Regions from separate parts of the Homo sapiens genome. Here all the other regions are linked to region 1. The links are contacts of gene promoters, found by promoter capture Hi-C in blood cells and fetal thymus (Javierre and others, 2016). All regions are on one chromosome and are shown on one strand. Each heading gives the region's core, a stretch centred on a gene start or on the middle of the fragment in contact. The rest is flanking DNA. Distances are from core to core; before and after follow the strand shown. Region 1 holds the start of SEC23A (SEC23 homolog A, COPII component). Region 2 has its middle 190 kb from the start of LINC00639. Region 3 overlaps LOC105370461 (a long non-coding RNA gene). Region 4 overlaps LOC105370461 (a long non-coding RNA gene). Region 5 overlaps LOC105370461 (a long non-coding RNA gene).

Region 1 (2,948 bases), core at 271-2,770:
TTGCCAAGTAAATTTGAGTTCCTTCCAATTACATGTATTTGTTAGTTGCCAATTAAATTTGTCTCCTACTTTTCACTTCCAAAATCCTCAATGAATTGTCTTCTTATGATCTTGGACAATTAACCTCTCTGAATCCTGTTTTTCTCATCAGCAAAATAAGAGACTTGGACTAGAAAATCACAAGGTCCCATCTAACTCTAAAATTCTGTAAGTCAATTAAAAATAGCTGGACTCTGGCCGGGCGCAGTGGCTCATGCCTGTGATCCCAGCACTTTGGGAGGCCGAGGCGGGCGGATCACCTGAGGTCAGGAGTTCGAGACCAGCCTGGCCAACATGGTGAAACCCCGTCTCTACTAAAGATACAAAAATTAGCCGGGCATAGTAGCTCGCCCCTGTAATCCCAGCTACTCGGGAGGCTGAAGCAGGAGAATCGCTTGAACCAGGGAGGCGGAGGTTGCAGTGAGCCGAGATTGCGCCACTGCACTCCAGCCTGGGCGACAAAGCAAGACTCCGTCTCAGAAAAAAAAAAAATAGCTGGACTTCTGAAATGATGTTCATTCACTACCAGAGGAGAAAGAGAAGGAAAACTCAACATGCATTTATATTTAAATCTAAAACCTTTTTAAACCAAGTTAATTTGGCTAGTTATCCATGGCTTTGGACGGTAGAGGTTGAGGGAGTTCAAGTGAAAACGAGAATTCCACATCCCCACTTCAGTGATTGATGTAGATTTACTATGACCTTCCTCAGGCAGTACCTTTACCACCAAATCGGGAAACACTACCTACCGTAGAAAGAAAGCCCAGTGAGATAGGGCTGGTCCTGCTGGAAAACTGAACTCTTTGTAATCAAAACCCAAGGCATTATCTTTACCAAGCTCTTTTCCCCTTTAACCCCTTTAACTTCCAAGGCTGAATTACGGTGACGTAGTCAATTGGGTTCAAAGTCTAGGACACTCCATATCTGGCAAGGAATGAAACAGTAAGTCCAAGGGCCCAGAGGCGATGATGGACTTGGGTGGAGGTGGGTGGCCCAGGAGGTGGGGGTGGGTGCTGGGCGAGATGCTCGAACCACCGTTTTCCACATCTTTCCACCTAATCCAGGGGAGCTGGAGGAGGCCGGGCCCCCGGCCCCGGCAGAGCGAAGTGGGTGAGAGGGTGGCAAGCTCAGCACTCAACGCTCCCCGCGCCGGACCGGGCCTCAGCCTCCAGCACACCTCGCTGGCCCCGGGGCACCGAGAGGGCAGAGCCGGGACCACCCCAGGATCCCAGCCCCCAGCCCGCCGCCGCCAGCCCGCCCCCGCTCCCCGCTGCGCACCTGCGGTCCCCCAGGAGCGGAGACGAGGCGGCCCTTTCCTCACTGTCCCCCTGCAGGACCCGTCGCAGCCTCCGCTTTGCAAAATCTGTCCTCTCCGCCCAGCAGGAGCAGTCCGTGGCACCGCAATCAGGGGTGGCGCCACCCCGCCCCGGGCCTCAGCGAAGACCTCCGCCCGGCCAACATGGCTGGCGCCGCCTCTGCCACGTCAAGAGGAGGGGACGGGGCGTGAGGGCAGGAAGGGGGCAGGAAGGGGCGGGCGCAGAGTTACCAGGGCAGGCCACCGGACCCCTGAGCTTGCTTAATAACCGGAGGATTTGAGAAAGGCGCGCGGCGGGCGAAGGTACCGAGAGGGGAGGAGGGAGGAGAGGTAGCGGGGACCGAGCCAGAGGGGCGGAAGAACCCGGAAGACCCAGGCAGCCGGACGGCCGAGGGGCGTGGGACCGGGCAGAGCGGGACCGGGAGAGAGCGCCTTTCCCAGCTCCCTAAAGCCACAGCGTATCCCACTCCCTGCAGGTCGCAGAAAGAGTGGAGAACTGGTGCCACTCGGACACCTTAGCTCACCGAGAGAAATGGAGACGGCCTCCAGGACATCTTAGGACCCTGGTTGATTCCGAGAATCACAAATCACATCTCTGAAAAAAGTGAAAAGTTCATTCTTTCACTTAGTGCAACAAATGTTTACTGAAACTTACTATGTGCCAGACACAATTGAGATGCTGGTAATATGATGCAGGCAAAGTAGGCCCAGATCCCTGGCCCGAAAGAATTCACGTACTATTTATGTATTTTAGTCAGCCTGTCTTTTCCTCCTACATTGCCTCTGCCACTTCAACTCTGTCTCCCCCCACCCCCAAAACACACACACAGTACAATATTTGGCTGATTCATCTTGATATGTTCAATGTTTTTCTTTCCAAGAAAAAAGTTGAACAAAATGAGAAAGCAACAGATTGGTAAGACATTAGAGCTTGGTGGTCTCAGACAACCCCTTCCTTCAGTGAGGGGAATGAAATTAAGTGCCCATGGAATTAATTGCATATATGACAACGCCTAAAAGCCTGCAAAGTTTAGCCATATCAACATTTTATGGAATGGAAAAAAAGATCAAGTCCCTGTCCTTGAAAGCTCATATTCATGAGAAATAAGACAGCAGCACCAGGCTGGGCGCGGTGGCTCACGCCTGTAATCCCAACACTTTGGGAGGCGGAGGCAGGCGGATCACAAGGTAAGGAGTTCGAGACCAGCCTGGCCAACATAGTGAAACACCGTCTCTACTAAAAATACAAAAATTAGCCGGGTGTGGTGGCACGCTCCTGTAGTCCCAGCTACTCGGGAGGATGAGGCAGAAGAATTGCTTGAACCCGGGAGGCGGAGGTTGCAGTGAGCCGAGACCACGCCATTGCACTCCAGCCTGGGTGACAGAGTGAGACTGTCTCAAAAAAAAAAGCACCAAACATATTTCCCTTTCTATAATGTGTGTACTAAAGTTGTTTTGGAAGGTGGAAGAGGATGTTTGCTTGTCAAATTGTAATACAATCCTGAAGAGGGCAATGGGAATCGAAAGCCAAAAATTAGTGTAGGCTTCCAAATAAAGTAGGTTCAAGGTGCTACCTTAATGAAGATTCTTAACA
Region 2 (2,948 bases), core at 269-2,768, 380 kb before region 1:
AGAACTTGGAGTTCGATGTTTGAGGACAGGAAGCACCCAGCCTGGGAGAAAGATGTAGGCTGGGAGGCTAGGCCAGTCTCTCTTTTCAGATTTTTCTGCCTGCTTATATTCTAGCTGTGCTGGCAGCTAATTAGATTGTGCCCACCCAGATTAAGGGTGGGTCTGCCTTTCTCGGCCCACTGACTCAAATGTTAATCTCCTTTGGCAACACCCTCACAGACACACCCAGGATCAATAATTTAATCCATGATTGAATCCTTCAATTCAATCAAGTTGACACTCAGTATTAACCATCACAGGTATACTCTCTTAAATTAGAATCCAAAATATAATCTTCATGTGCTGTTGTTATTAATATTTCAAATCTTTGGTAGATTAAAATAATATGACTTAAGTAGTTTAAATTCACAGTGTAATTGTAACTATACATATGTTTGGAAACCTGGATATATCAATGCAGTATGTGAGACAGGAAAATAATTAGGTTACAAAGACAGTACAGATCTAATAATTCTGTCCTGTTGGAGCACATAACAGAAGAAAAACACACGAGAGGTAACACTGAGACCTAATAAAAACAACCAAAAGGAACTGCCCAGCAGAGAGGAAGAGACTCAGACGCAGCAGTTTTGGCCGCGTAACTGATTGACTAAGCAACCTGAAGCCTGTCATGAATCGGTGTTTTATTCAAATGTGAATAAAGATGACTGCCCCAAATTTTAGTTACCACGGTGTGAAAACATTCATTTTTCACTGTCAGTCAGAAAATATAAATTCTCTGTTAGCTATGTCTCCAGACACACTCTCAGCCATGGCTGGAATAAGCTTTGATTCCATCTAGGCTGGGAGTGTAAACTACTCATTTCCTCACACTGTACCACGGCTATCCCAATACAGGCCTCCAGGAGGCAGTGTCTCTTCATTTTAACTGAGTGCATGAATTCTGCCAGTTCTTCAATATACTTAACTTCTGTCTTCATTCTCCTAGGAAACCTTTCTAGTCCAAGAGAAAGTATTCTGTAATGGTAGCCCTCCCACTGGCCCACCCATCATGGAATAATGCATCATGACTTTGCTAGGTTGGGTGAGTTCGTTCAAAGGTCACACACAGGCCTTTGGTTTCGGGAAAGGTAGAGAGAAAGGGACCACAATTTTGAGAGTAAAAGGACAGGAATGATTTTATGTTTGCAGCACTTGAGGGAAGATGTGATTTTTAAAACAGAGCTTAAAAACCTAAACAAACAAAAAATTCTTGGCCCTCATATGTGTATAGGTTGTCCTAAGGAATGCCTTTATTGCTTTACATATGACAACCAAAGTTCCTGTTGAGACCTCAGGTTGACACTTTGTTACTTTTCCCACTGAAAGTTGCTTTTGATGTTCGTTCGCACTGATTTTTACCTTCAACCAAGCCCTTGGATGTGATGTTAGCCATTGCCACTATCAAATACCCTAGAAGAGTGGATATAACCCTTTTTTGATGAGTGTCTTTGAAGTTCCAATGAGATACATGTATATTGCTGAACCTACACATATGTATATATCTTTATGCTTTGCTAACAATTTCAAGGATCTCCTAGACTTTGTTCAGTAAAGTCTTCTAGGTGAAGAAGAGAGAGCCCCTTACAGCTCTCTCACTGCTATCCTAGGTCAATTAGATTAGTCTGGTAATTAAGTGGTTTTTTGTGAACCAGTAACTGTATTGAAAGTCAAATATCAACAATTCAGGAAAACTGTCTTTGACTTCTTTATTTGGAAATATTCTATGAAGAGAGAATTTTTAATCACCACATAGGACTGATGTTTTATTTGTAGTTTGATCACCAGGTAACTGCTTCATTCATGCATTTCATTTATTTTTACTATCATTACCTCGCTTTACATAATAATATTTAACAATTACTGTAATCAGAACACTATTCACACTTTAACCAAGTGTCTTTTATGACACTCCTGAGAAAGAGATATCTCTTCTGGATAACCAAGCCAGAGAAGAATAGTTCAATAGCTTTATTACTATGATAGTGAAAGTTGATATCAATGCTAAATTGATGACTCTCTATCCTAGGATCATCAAACCACACCTTTCTCCTTTATAAAAGTCAGCAATACTTCCACATTTGCTAATTTCATAAATGATTTAGTAATATCAACTAATACAAAGTATTTGCAAAGCATCTGAAAAAAGTCATTTTCAGACAAAATCCTCATCAAGCTTAAAATTTCATGTCCTAAATTTAGAATATTATAGTCACAAAAACTACCTCCATTTTATCATAAAGTGTCTATTGATGTCACCACCACTGTCATTGTTGCAATTGTCATTCATTGGTTCAAGCTTTAAGATCAGAGTGGCACCTAGTGGTACATTCTTTTTCTTTTCCCCCTCTTTTGTTCTGCTTCAAATTATCAACAGGTACACTTTGAATACACATTGAGTACTCATTATAACAACTTTATTAATGAAATGCTTACTACCACCACTTCCCTAAACTTATAGAAACAAATCATTTTGGAATTTGAAATCTCATATTTTGAAAATACGTGACACGAAAATGTTGTTGACAGAACGGAAGCTCATTGGTAATATTTACTGACAATGAAAGTTCTAAAATGGAATATAAAAATGAGATGTTTCTTTAAAAATCAAGAAATGTAAAAGGCATGCTAATATGATAACGGCCATCCCAAGACAATAACTCAAGAATTAACTGTCTGCAAATAATCATCTGTGAAACAGTACCTTGACTTTAAAGTCCTTAAAAATGCAAGCATGAAGATAACGGAGCTAATCATACTAATTAACTCACTGTGCCTTGTAACAAATTAATTTTGAGTAAAGGAACAGGCAACTAGAGAAAAAGGCCAAAATCTCAATTAGTTAATCTGAATAGAACATAAATACTCTCAGAACTTTTTTGGCCTTTAGAATAAGAGTAGAACCGGGA
Region 3 (2,948 bases), core at 204-2,703, 380 kb after region 1:
CTTCATCAGGGATATTAGCCTGAAGTTTTCTTTCTTTGTTGTGTTTCTGCCAGGTTTTGGTATCAAGATGATGCTGGCCTCATAAATTGAGTTAGGGAGGAGTCCCTCTTTTTCTTTTGTTTGGAATAGTTTCAGCAGAAATGGTACCAGCTCCTCTTTGTACTTCTGATAGAATTTGGCTGTGAATCTATCTAGTCCTGGTCTTTTTTTAGTTGGTAGGCTATTAACTAGTGCCTCAATTTCAGAACTTGATATTGGTCTACTCAAGGATTCGACTTCTTCCTGGTTTAGTCTTGGGAGGGTGTATGTGTCCTAGAATTTATTCATTTCTTCTAGAACTTCTAGTTTCTTCGTGTAGAGGTGTTTATAGTATTCTGTGATGGTAGTTTGTATTTCTGTGGGGTCAATGGTGATATCTCCTTTATCATTTTTTTCTTGTGCCTATTTGACTCTTCTCTCTTTTTTCTTCATTAATCTAGCTAGCAGTCTATTTTGTTAATTTTTTTTTTTAAAAACCAGCTCCTGGATTCATTGATTTTTTTTTGAAGGTTTTTTTCATGTATCTGTCTCCTTCAGTTCTGCTCTGATCTTAGTTATTTCTTGTCTTCTGCTAGATTTTTTGTTTGCTCTTGCTTCCCTAGTTCTTTTAATTGTGATGTTAGGGTATCGATTTGAGATCTTTCTAGCTTTCTGATGTGGGCATTTAGTGCTAAAATTTCTGTCTTAACACTGCTTTAGCTGTGTTCCATAGATTCTGGTACATTGTCTCTTTATTCTCATTGATTTCAAAGAACTTCTTGATTTCTGCCTTAATTTTATTATTTACCCAAGAGTCATTCAGGAAAAGCTTGTTCAGTTTGCATGTAATTGTGTGATTTTGTGTGAGTTTCTTAATCCTGAGTTCTAATTTGATTGCACTGTGGTCTGAGACACTGAAAAACAAATCTTTGAAATAAAACTTCAGTAGATGGATTTAAGGAGAGTCACTATGGAGACCTGTGACTATGGAGTGTCACTATAGGTTGGAAAAATTAGGAGGAAGAAATATCTAAAAACTAAGAAGAAATACATATAGAGAAGTAAATTATGATGAAGATATTTGACTCAAGATTCTTTTCCATAGCCTTTCCTTGAAATTGCTGGAGCTTGTGCATCATCAAAATAATGGCATAAACCAAGGAAGAAGAAAACAAAATTGAGGAAATGGGATCCAACACAAAAGAGAGACAACAGGATTAATTGAGTGTTGGTGAAAAGCCACAGCCTGTAAATAATGCAGTTCGAACTGAAATAGACCAGGAGGCTCAAGGAGAGACTTCTTCAAGAAGATAAAATTGATAGAATGCCTAAGGAGTTTGAGTGCATTGAGAATAGATTCATATCAGTTCTGGAGAACTGGGTGGATACATTAATGTTAAGTACATAGAAAAGTTAAAAATGAAAAAAATTCTCAATTCTAGGGAAAATAATCATAGTAAACTACATGTTTTAGTTACCAATAGTGTTTACGTAGTCAATATAAACAATGGGCATTGATATAAATAATGTATGTTGATCTGCTATAACAAGGTAAAATGCTATTGGGGAAACAAGATAACCTGTGTGTGTGTGTGTGTATGTTTGTTGAAATTATTGCTTTTATATGGAAAAGATTTAAATTATTAGCTTCTGCAATAAATAATATAGATAATAATGCCTATAACTAAAGTTAGTAACAGTATAAGACTATAACAATGTTATTTAGGAATTTGGGGCAAATACCAAAAACCAGCAAAAAGAGTTGAAAGCAATTCAGGGAGTGAGAAATTTGAAGTGTGGGGGGATCTAATTTTTTCATATCTAACCTTGTAGAAGTTTTAAATGATGCACATGTGTAACTCTGCTAAAAATAGCCCCCTAAATTATAAATAAAAGGAAATCATGGGATAAGACAGACCAAGAGGTGTAATATTAGGAGTTCTAGGAGGTTAAAAAAAAAAGAAAATGTGAGAGAAAATAGTATGATTATATTAGAAGAAACCTACATCTGCAACTTGAAGAGTGCCCCAGTCTCTCTAATCCAAGCTTTATTTAGGATGGATGAGGAAAAAAAGGTAATAGGCATATTCCTATAAAATTTTCAGACTCCAAAGATAATGATAAAATCTTACAGGGTCCAGATAGAAAAAAAACGTTAGTTGGAAAGGACAAATAATCAGACATACATTACATTTCCTGTGTGCACTTCTTGAGACTGGAATGTGGTGGTTTAATGGTAGTAGACCAGAAGATTACACCCATGAATCTTAGGCTAGGCTAAGCTAAGCTATCAGTTACCTCTTAGGGAGAAAGATGTTTGCAGATGTGTGAGAATTCAGAGATTAGAGAAGTCTTGAGAAAATATACCAGTCAACAAAAGGGCTTGAACAGTGACTCTAGGATATGAGAAGATAATGAAGGGAAATAGTGGTAAGCAATAATCTTGGCAGTATACACGATTTTCTTTTTTTTTTTTTCATTATACTTTAAGTTCTAGGGTACATGTGCACAACGTGCAGGTTTGTTACATATGTATACATGTGCCATGTTGGTGTGCTACACCCAATAACTCGTCATTTAACATTAGCTATATCTCCTAATGCTATCCCTCCCCCCTCCCCACACCCCACGACAGGCCCCGGTGTGTGATGTTCCCCTTCCTGTGTCCATGTGTTCTCATTGTTCAATTCCCACCTGTGAGTGAGAACATGCGGTGTTTGGTTTTTGGTCCTTGCGATAGTTTGCTGAGAATGATGGTTTCCAGCTTCATCCATGTCCCTACAAAGGACATGAACTCATCATTTTTTATGGCTGCATAATATTCCATGGTGTATATGTGCCACATTTTCTTAATCCAGTCTATCGTTGTTGGACATTTGGGTTGGTTCCAAGTCTTTGCTATTGTGAATAGCGCTGCAAGAAACATACGT
Region 4 (2,948 bases), core at 266-2,765, 360 kb after region 1:
TTTGTGAGAACTCACTCACTATCAGGAGAACATGAGGGTAACTGCTCCCATGATTCAGTTACCTCCTACCGGGACCCTCCCATGACATGTGGGGATTGTGGGAACTACAAGACGAGATTTGGGTGGGGACACAGCAAAACCACATCAGAAAATAAATTTATAATAGGTCGTAAGTACTACAGAGGAAAATAAAACAAGTTAAGGTGATGGGGGCAATTGCTCATTTAGGTAGGATGGTCAGGAAAGCCCTCTCTGATGAGATGATGTTTGAGCAGAAATCTGAAGGAGTAAAGAGAATAAAACATGTGGTTGTCTGGTTAGAAGACAAGTCTAGGCAGTGAGAACAGCAAGTGAAAAAGCCCTGAGGTTGAAACATACTTGTGTATTCATAGAATACTGAGAAGGCCATTGGGAATGGACCATTATAAGCAAAGAAATAGTAGTAGGAGTTGAGGTCAGAGAGTTAGCAAGTGGGACAAGATCATTTAGGGGCCTCTAGGCCATGGCAAGGGCATTTTTTTTTTTCTTTCCTGGGGATGATAGACATTGGAGGGTTTTGAGCAGGGAAATAAAACATTGTGACTTACAATGTAAAATGATAAGTCTTGTTGCTATTAAATTTCCAAACAAAACTATCAAGTAGGTAGTTAATATTGAAGTCTGAAGTTCAGGGGAGAAACCTGGGCTGGAGATAAAAAGTATGAATGTATAATTTGTTGTCAACATATAGATGATATTTAAATCCATCTCAAATGTTCTTAACTGACTCTCTTGCTTGGAAAAATTTAGGGTGTATTGTTCCAAAATTTTTTATATTTAAATCTTTAATCCACCTGGAATTTTGGAACATAGTTTGATATCACATTCCAGTATTTTTTTTCCATATAGATAACAAACACTATCAAATTAACCATTCTTTTCTCCATATGTATAACCAGCCTCATTTATTACGCTATTTTTTCCCAATGAATTTTTGTATATAAAACTCTCCTGTATACTGGTATCTATTTTTGTATTCGCTACTCTTTCCATGGTCTGTTTGCTCAATCCCAAACCACTTTTCCTATTGATTTGATTGCAGAGGCTTTATTATATGTGTCTGATTAGGTTTGTCCCTCTTTACCCTTCTTATATTTTATACTTTTTGGGAGTATTCTCAGGCATTTTTTCTTTCATATGAATTTTAACATAATTTTATTAAACGAACAAAATACTACATTTGATTTATATGAATTTTGAGAATTCATATAAATTTTGACATGAATTTTACAATTTATGTCTTTCCAGTGTTCCATGGCTAAATAACAATAACTGTTATAACATTATTAGGTTTTGTTTTCTTCATGTAGGTTAAGATTTTGTTTTCTTCATATAGGTTCTGTGTTTTCCTTGTTTACATTTATTACTACTGTACCCCTATTATAGTTTTAGCTGTTATTGTAAGAGGAAAAATTTTCACCTTTTCCTCTTTTGGTTACTGGTTCCAAGTACAAAAAAGTTCTTGATTTTTCTAAATTTAACTTTACTGTAGTCATCTTACCAAATTCTTATTATTAAATCAGGATGCTTTCATTGGTATATTTTCTAAATATATAATCATGTAATCATTAATTTCCTTTTCAGTGTCCATATAAATTACTTCATTTTTGGTCTAATTTCTCTTTATCATGCTTTTTTTGTTACCTTTGCCCCCTTTTTTCATATTTTTAAAACAATTTATTCTGCAAAAATTTCTTGAGCACGTTTTTGTGTGTCAAGTGCTTTATTGGTGCTAGAGATTCAATAATGAACAAAAAGGACAAAATCCCTGTGTGATGGAACTCTATTATTTGCTTCCTGACATTAATTGAAATGACTTAGTGTTTTATTGTTTAGTATATTTTCTGTAGGCTGTGGTGAATAGACTATCATATTTATATAGTTTTCTTTTAGGCCTATATTTCTTAAAGTTTTTATTAGGAATAACTGCTGAATTTTATTTGACTTGTTTTCATCAGCTGATAATATGATAATCTGGTTTGTCTTTTATTGCTTTTTATGGATTATTGATTTTAAAAATTGTTCTCTAATCAAGTATTATTCATTTAGTATTAAGGCAATATGTCTTACTTGATACTGTGTACTTAGCATGCTAGTTACTATCTTTAATTAACAAGTATCATGGATTGTGTTTTCCAAAAATGAACACAACCATAACTCCTATTCCACTGGGTTTTCTTACAGTATAACTTTGAACTTTTTATATTGAGAGGTAGCGTTTTTATACTGAGAGGTAGCGTCTCTGTTCTCTCTCCTTGAATCTGGGTGGGAGTGTGACTATAGCAGAAGTGGCACTATGTGATTTCCAAGACTATATCATAAATGATGATATAGCTTCTCTTCTTGGATACATGGTTTGTGGAACTTAGACACCATTATGTGAGCAAGTCCAAAGAGCCCATGGAGAGGCCATATGTAGGTATTAATACTGACAGTCCCAGCTGAGAGCCCAGCTTACAGCTACATCAACCACCAGTCATATGAATGAATGAACTTCTAGGTGATTTCAGCTCCCAGCTCTTGAGTCACTTTCAGCCTTCAAGTGTTCCCACCTGAGGCCCCAGACATTGTGAAACAGAGATAAGCCAACCTGCTGTACCCTTTCCGAATTCCTGACTCACATAATCTGTGAGACCCACAGTGAAATGGTGGTTGCTTTATGTTTTAAATTTGGGATGGTTTTTATATGGTAATGAGTAACTGAAACAAGAAAAGGACAATTTATATACAAAATTAATAATTTTCCCCTCATTTTTATATAACACACATTAACTGTATTATGCAATCATCTGTAACAATACTGCCAACTTCATGTGGTGCAAAGAGTATCTGGAGTCAGCTGAGCAAGATTCAGGTTACAGAACAACAGTAAAATATGTGTTTTATTTTGAGAAGTTCAAGTAATCTCT
Region 5 (2,948 bases), core at 115-2,614, 340 kb after region 1:
TGGGCCACTAGGCCCAGCCGCTACCTGTGCTTTTTAACTGATTAACTTTAGACATCATCTGTTTACTCCCTTTTTGTAAAATATGAAGATGTATTTCAATTACATTACTCTCTTTCCCTCTTCCATATTCCTACCAATATTTGATAATCGTAATATTTTGTTTTTCTCTTGGTTTTTTTTTTGGAGATGGAGTCTTGCTCTATTGCCAAGGCTGGAGTATAGTGATGTGATCTTGGCTCACTGCAGCCTCCATCTTCTGGTTCAAGCAATTCTCCTGCCTCAGCCTCCTGAGTAGCTGGGACTCCAGGTGTGCATCACCACACCTGGCTAATTTTTGTATTTTTAGTGGAGATGGGTTTCACCATGTTGGTCAGGCTAGTTTTGGACTCCTGGCCTCAAGTAATCTTCCTGCCTCAGCCTTCCAAAGTGCTGGGTTTATAGGCATGAGCCACCGTGTCCAGCCTCTTGGTTGTTCTTACATTAATCAGCTTTTGCTACATAGCAGTCACAATCTTCTGTCTATAATTGGCTAGATTATAGTATGTTAGATAAATATTAGGCAAATATTCACTTTTTTCCCCTTTACCCACCTTTATGGAAAAAGCATACTTTCTCCCATGATTATTGATGTTGGATTTGGGTCTTACGATTTGTGTAAAGTTAATTTTTCCTGTCTTTCGTTTATAAGAAGGGCTCTAATTAATAAAGATGCTAGTTTCTATAAAAGGGAAACCTGAAGATCTTAATGTCAACAAAATAGCCGTGTATTTTTTCACTCCTTTAACTGTCCACTGAAGGTGTTCTTAGCAGGCGGCTTTCCTTCATGTGATGATTCAGTGACCCTAATTCCTTCTGTTTTATAGTTATACCATCCTTAAAATGCCCTGTGATTCTCTGTCTCTTGTAATGGAAGGGGAAGAGAGAATGGAGAAGGCACTTCTTAATTGCCGTAGCAAGGAAATGACAGATTACTTCCTACATTCATTGGCTAAAACTAGACACATGGTCTTGCCTAGACATAAAGGGTCTGAGAGATGAAGTTTTGCCACAAAGGAGGCCTATCCTTTTATTACTATTTTTGGCTGAAGGTAAATACTAGGGTCCTTGTATTTGCTGTGGACAGAGATGGAAGAAAACGGTGGATTTGTTTAGTATAGTTTTCTTGTATTCAGATCTTTAGTTAATCTCTATTCCTAGCTAACCTTCTCACTCTTTCCTTAATGTTCCTTAGAGATAGTTCCTCAGGTGCACTGAACCCAGAATCTCTAAGGTTTCAGTGCACAGGACAGCTTTTATCTCAATTGCAGCTTCCTCCTAGTGATGGTGGCGGCTCATCTGGAGCAGCTGCTGCGGTGAAGGCCGCTGCAGTAGGAGGGGGTGCACCTGGGGCTGTGCCCTCTGTGGAGCCCGTAGGGGGTGGGAACAGGTGATCCCAGTGGAAGCCTCACACTCTACCAAATTGGTGGGGCAGGAGCCTGCACTTCTAGGTGCAGCTGTAACCACCCAGCCATGGCTCCAGACCTGGGCATCCCTGTGCTCTCTGGGGCCCAGGGAGCCTCTTGCCCCCGCAAGTTCGGAAGTGCCTGCTCCCACTCTCCCTGGCCTCTCCCTGCTCTCAGTTTCCACTCTGGTGTGGAGCAAAGTTATAGCTTAGCCCAGGCACTGTCGTGACCCAGCCAGGTGTGTGCATGCCTGGGGCAACACTGACACACCAACTCCCACTGCCGCCTTGAGCACTGATGAGCTCAGAGGGAGCTGAAACTCTGAAACTTTGGGCACTGATGAACTCAAGAGGGAGACCGGGGGTGCTGAGGGCAGCTTGGTGTGGGCCTGTGGGCTCCCCTCAGCATGGACAGCCTGGGCACAAATGGCATGTTGATGGCAACAGGAGGCAGACAGATTCCTAGGTGGGAAGGGGCAGGTCCTTGGTGAAACCCCGTCTTGAAGCCAGGGATGGCCTGAAGCCTGGGGGCCAGGCTGCCAATTACGGGTGGAGTCCGCGGCCCAGAGTGAGAACTTACGGTGCTTTTTCCATGCCTGCCCATGGCTACCCATGGATCAATCAGCATGCACTTCCTCCCTTCTGAGCCCATAAAAACCCTAGACTCATGCAGACTCAGATACTCTTCAGGATGACCTGCCAGTGGAAAGGAGCTACCCACTACACGTCTTCTCTCTACTGAGAGCTGTTCTGTTGCTCAATAAATCTCTGCCTTGTTCACCTTCCAGTTGTCCATGTTACCTCATTCTTCATGGACATGGGACAAGAACTAGGATATCACTGAATGGTAGGTGTGAAAGGAGCTGTAATGCTTTCCTGGCCCGCTTGCCAAGCTGCAGGCAGTGACACGCTCCTGGACTATGAGAGTGAAGAGTGGTAACCCTTCTGGGGACCCAGACCTTGGGATTTCCTGAGGTAGAGCTGCTGTAACACTGTAGCACTTCCACCCTTTGTTGGCGCCGGGTGGCCGCCCCATGCAGTGGGAAGCAGCAGTGGGGCTGGGCCAGCCACGGGCTGCAGTTGTGGTGGTGGGACTGAAAGAGCTATAACACAAATGGGCTTAAACACTCCCCACTGAAACTTGCTGCCATCCCCTGCTCTCTGCACTGCAGGCAATGAGAAGGAGAGAAGAGCTGTAGCCCTTCTGGAAGCCCAGACCTTGGGGCTTCCTAAGCCAGAGCTGTGACATGCTATAACACCCTCTTTGGATGCTCTGTGGTTCCTGGCATCTCCGGGCTTTTGGGCGCCACCTTGTTCCCCTCATCGAGACACTGGTCTTTGCAGCAGAAGCTGCTTGCAGTACATCTGGTCCAGCCAGAGCCTCACATGGAGCCAGTGCCTGTGCTGGTGCTTGGTGCTGCCCGCTCCGCAGCAGCAGCTGGTATGCCTGGCTGTGCGCAGTGGCCGGATTCCACACTGACTTGCTCATGCATCCCTTGTCACTGAG

What was found. Contacts are between HindIII fragments. The CHiCAGO score rates a contact against its expected background, and 5 or more counts as called.
Region 2: a fragment that was not itself captured here is called in contact with the fragment with the promoter of SEC23A in region 1 in 2 of 17 cell types (M2 macrophages and neutrophils); the score reaches 6.4 in M2 macrophages.
Region 3: a fragment that was not itself captured here is called in contact with the fragment with the promoter of SEC23A in region 1 in 1 of 17 cell types (total B cells); the score reaches 5.1 in total B cells.
Region 4: a contact is called between a fragment that was not itself captured here and the fragment with the promoter of SEC23A in region 1, in 1 of 17 cell types (fetal thymus). The highest score is 5.3, in fetal thymus.
Region 5: a fragment that was not itself captured here is called in contact with the fragment with the promoter of SEC23A in region 1 in 10 of 17 cell types (fetal thymus, non-activated CD4 T cells, total B cells and 7 more); the score reaches 11.0 in fetal thymus.

What each region holds. Positions count from the first base shown.
Region 1 is chr14:39,101,715-39,104,662 of GRCh38, forward strand. SEC23A (SEC23 homolog A, COPII component) reads right to left here and starts at 1,521. Exons shown (of 20, transcript NM_006364.4): 1 at 1,318-1,521. SEC23A-AS1 (SEC23A antisense RNA 1) reads left to right here and starts at 1,426. Exons shown (of 2, transcript NR_146545.1): 1 at 1,426-1,657; 2 at 1,831-2,098. RefSeq lists silencers at 1,127-1,206, 1,227-1,346, 1,507-1,736. The HindIII fragment of the contact is 19,881 bases long and covers 1-2,948 here.
Region 2 is chr14:38,721,127-38,724,074 of GRCh38, forward strand. No RefSeq gene overlaps it. Among named protein-coding and RNA genes, the nearest start is that of LINC00639, 190 kb to the right of the region's middle. The HindIII fragment of the contact is 1,390 bases long and covers 824-2,213 here.
Region 3 is chr14:39,478,746-39,481,693 of GRCh38, forward strand. The region is part of intron 2 of LOC105370461 (a long non-coding RNA gene); the gene reads left to right. LOC105370460 (a long non-coding RNA gene) reads left to right here. Exons shown (of 3, transcript XR_001750731.2): 2 at 1,124-1,569. Among named protein-coding and RNA genes, the nearest start is that of FBXO33, 48 kb to the left of the region's middle. The HindIII fragment of the contact is 1,217 bases long and covers 846-2,062 here.
Region 4 is chr14:39,457,426-39,460,373 of GRCh38, forward strand. The region is part of intron 1 of LOC105370461 (a long non-coding RNA gene); the gene reads left to right. Among named protein-coding and RNA genes, the nearest start is that of FBXO33, 26 kb to the left of the region's middle. The HindIII fragment of the contact is 9,042 bases long and covers 1-2,948 here.
Region 5 is chr14:39,439,532-39,442,479 of GRCh38, forward strand. The region is part of intron 1 of LOC105370461 (a long non-coding RNA gene); the gene reads left to right. Among named protein-coding and RNA genes, the nearest start is that of FBXO33, 8.6 kb to the left of the region's middle. The HindIII fragment of the contact is 8,991 bases long and covers 1-2,948 here.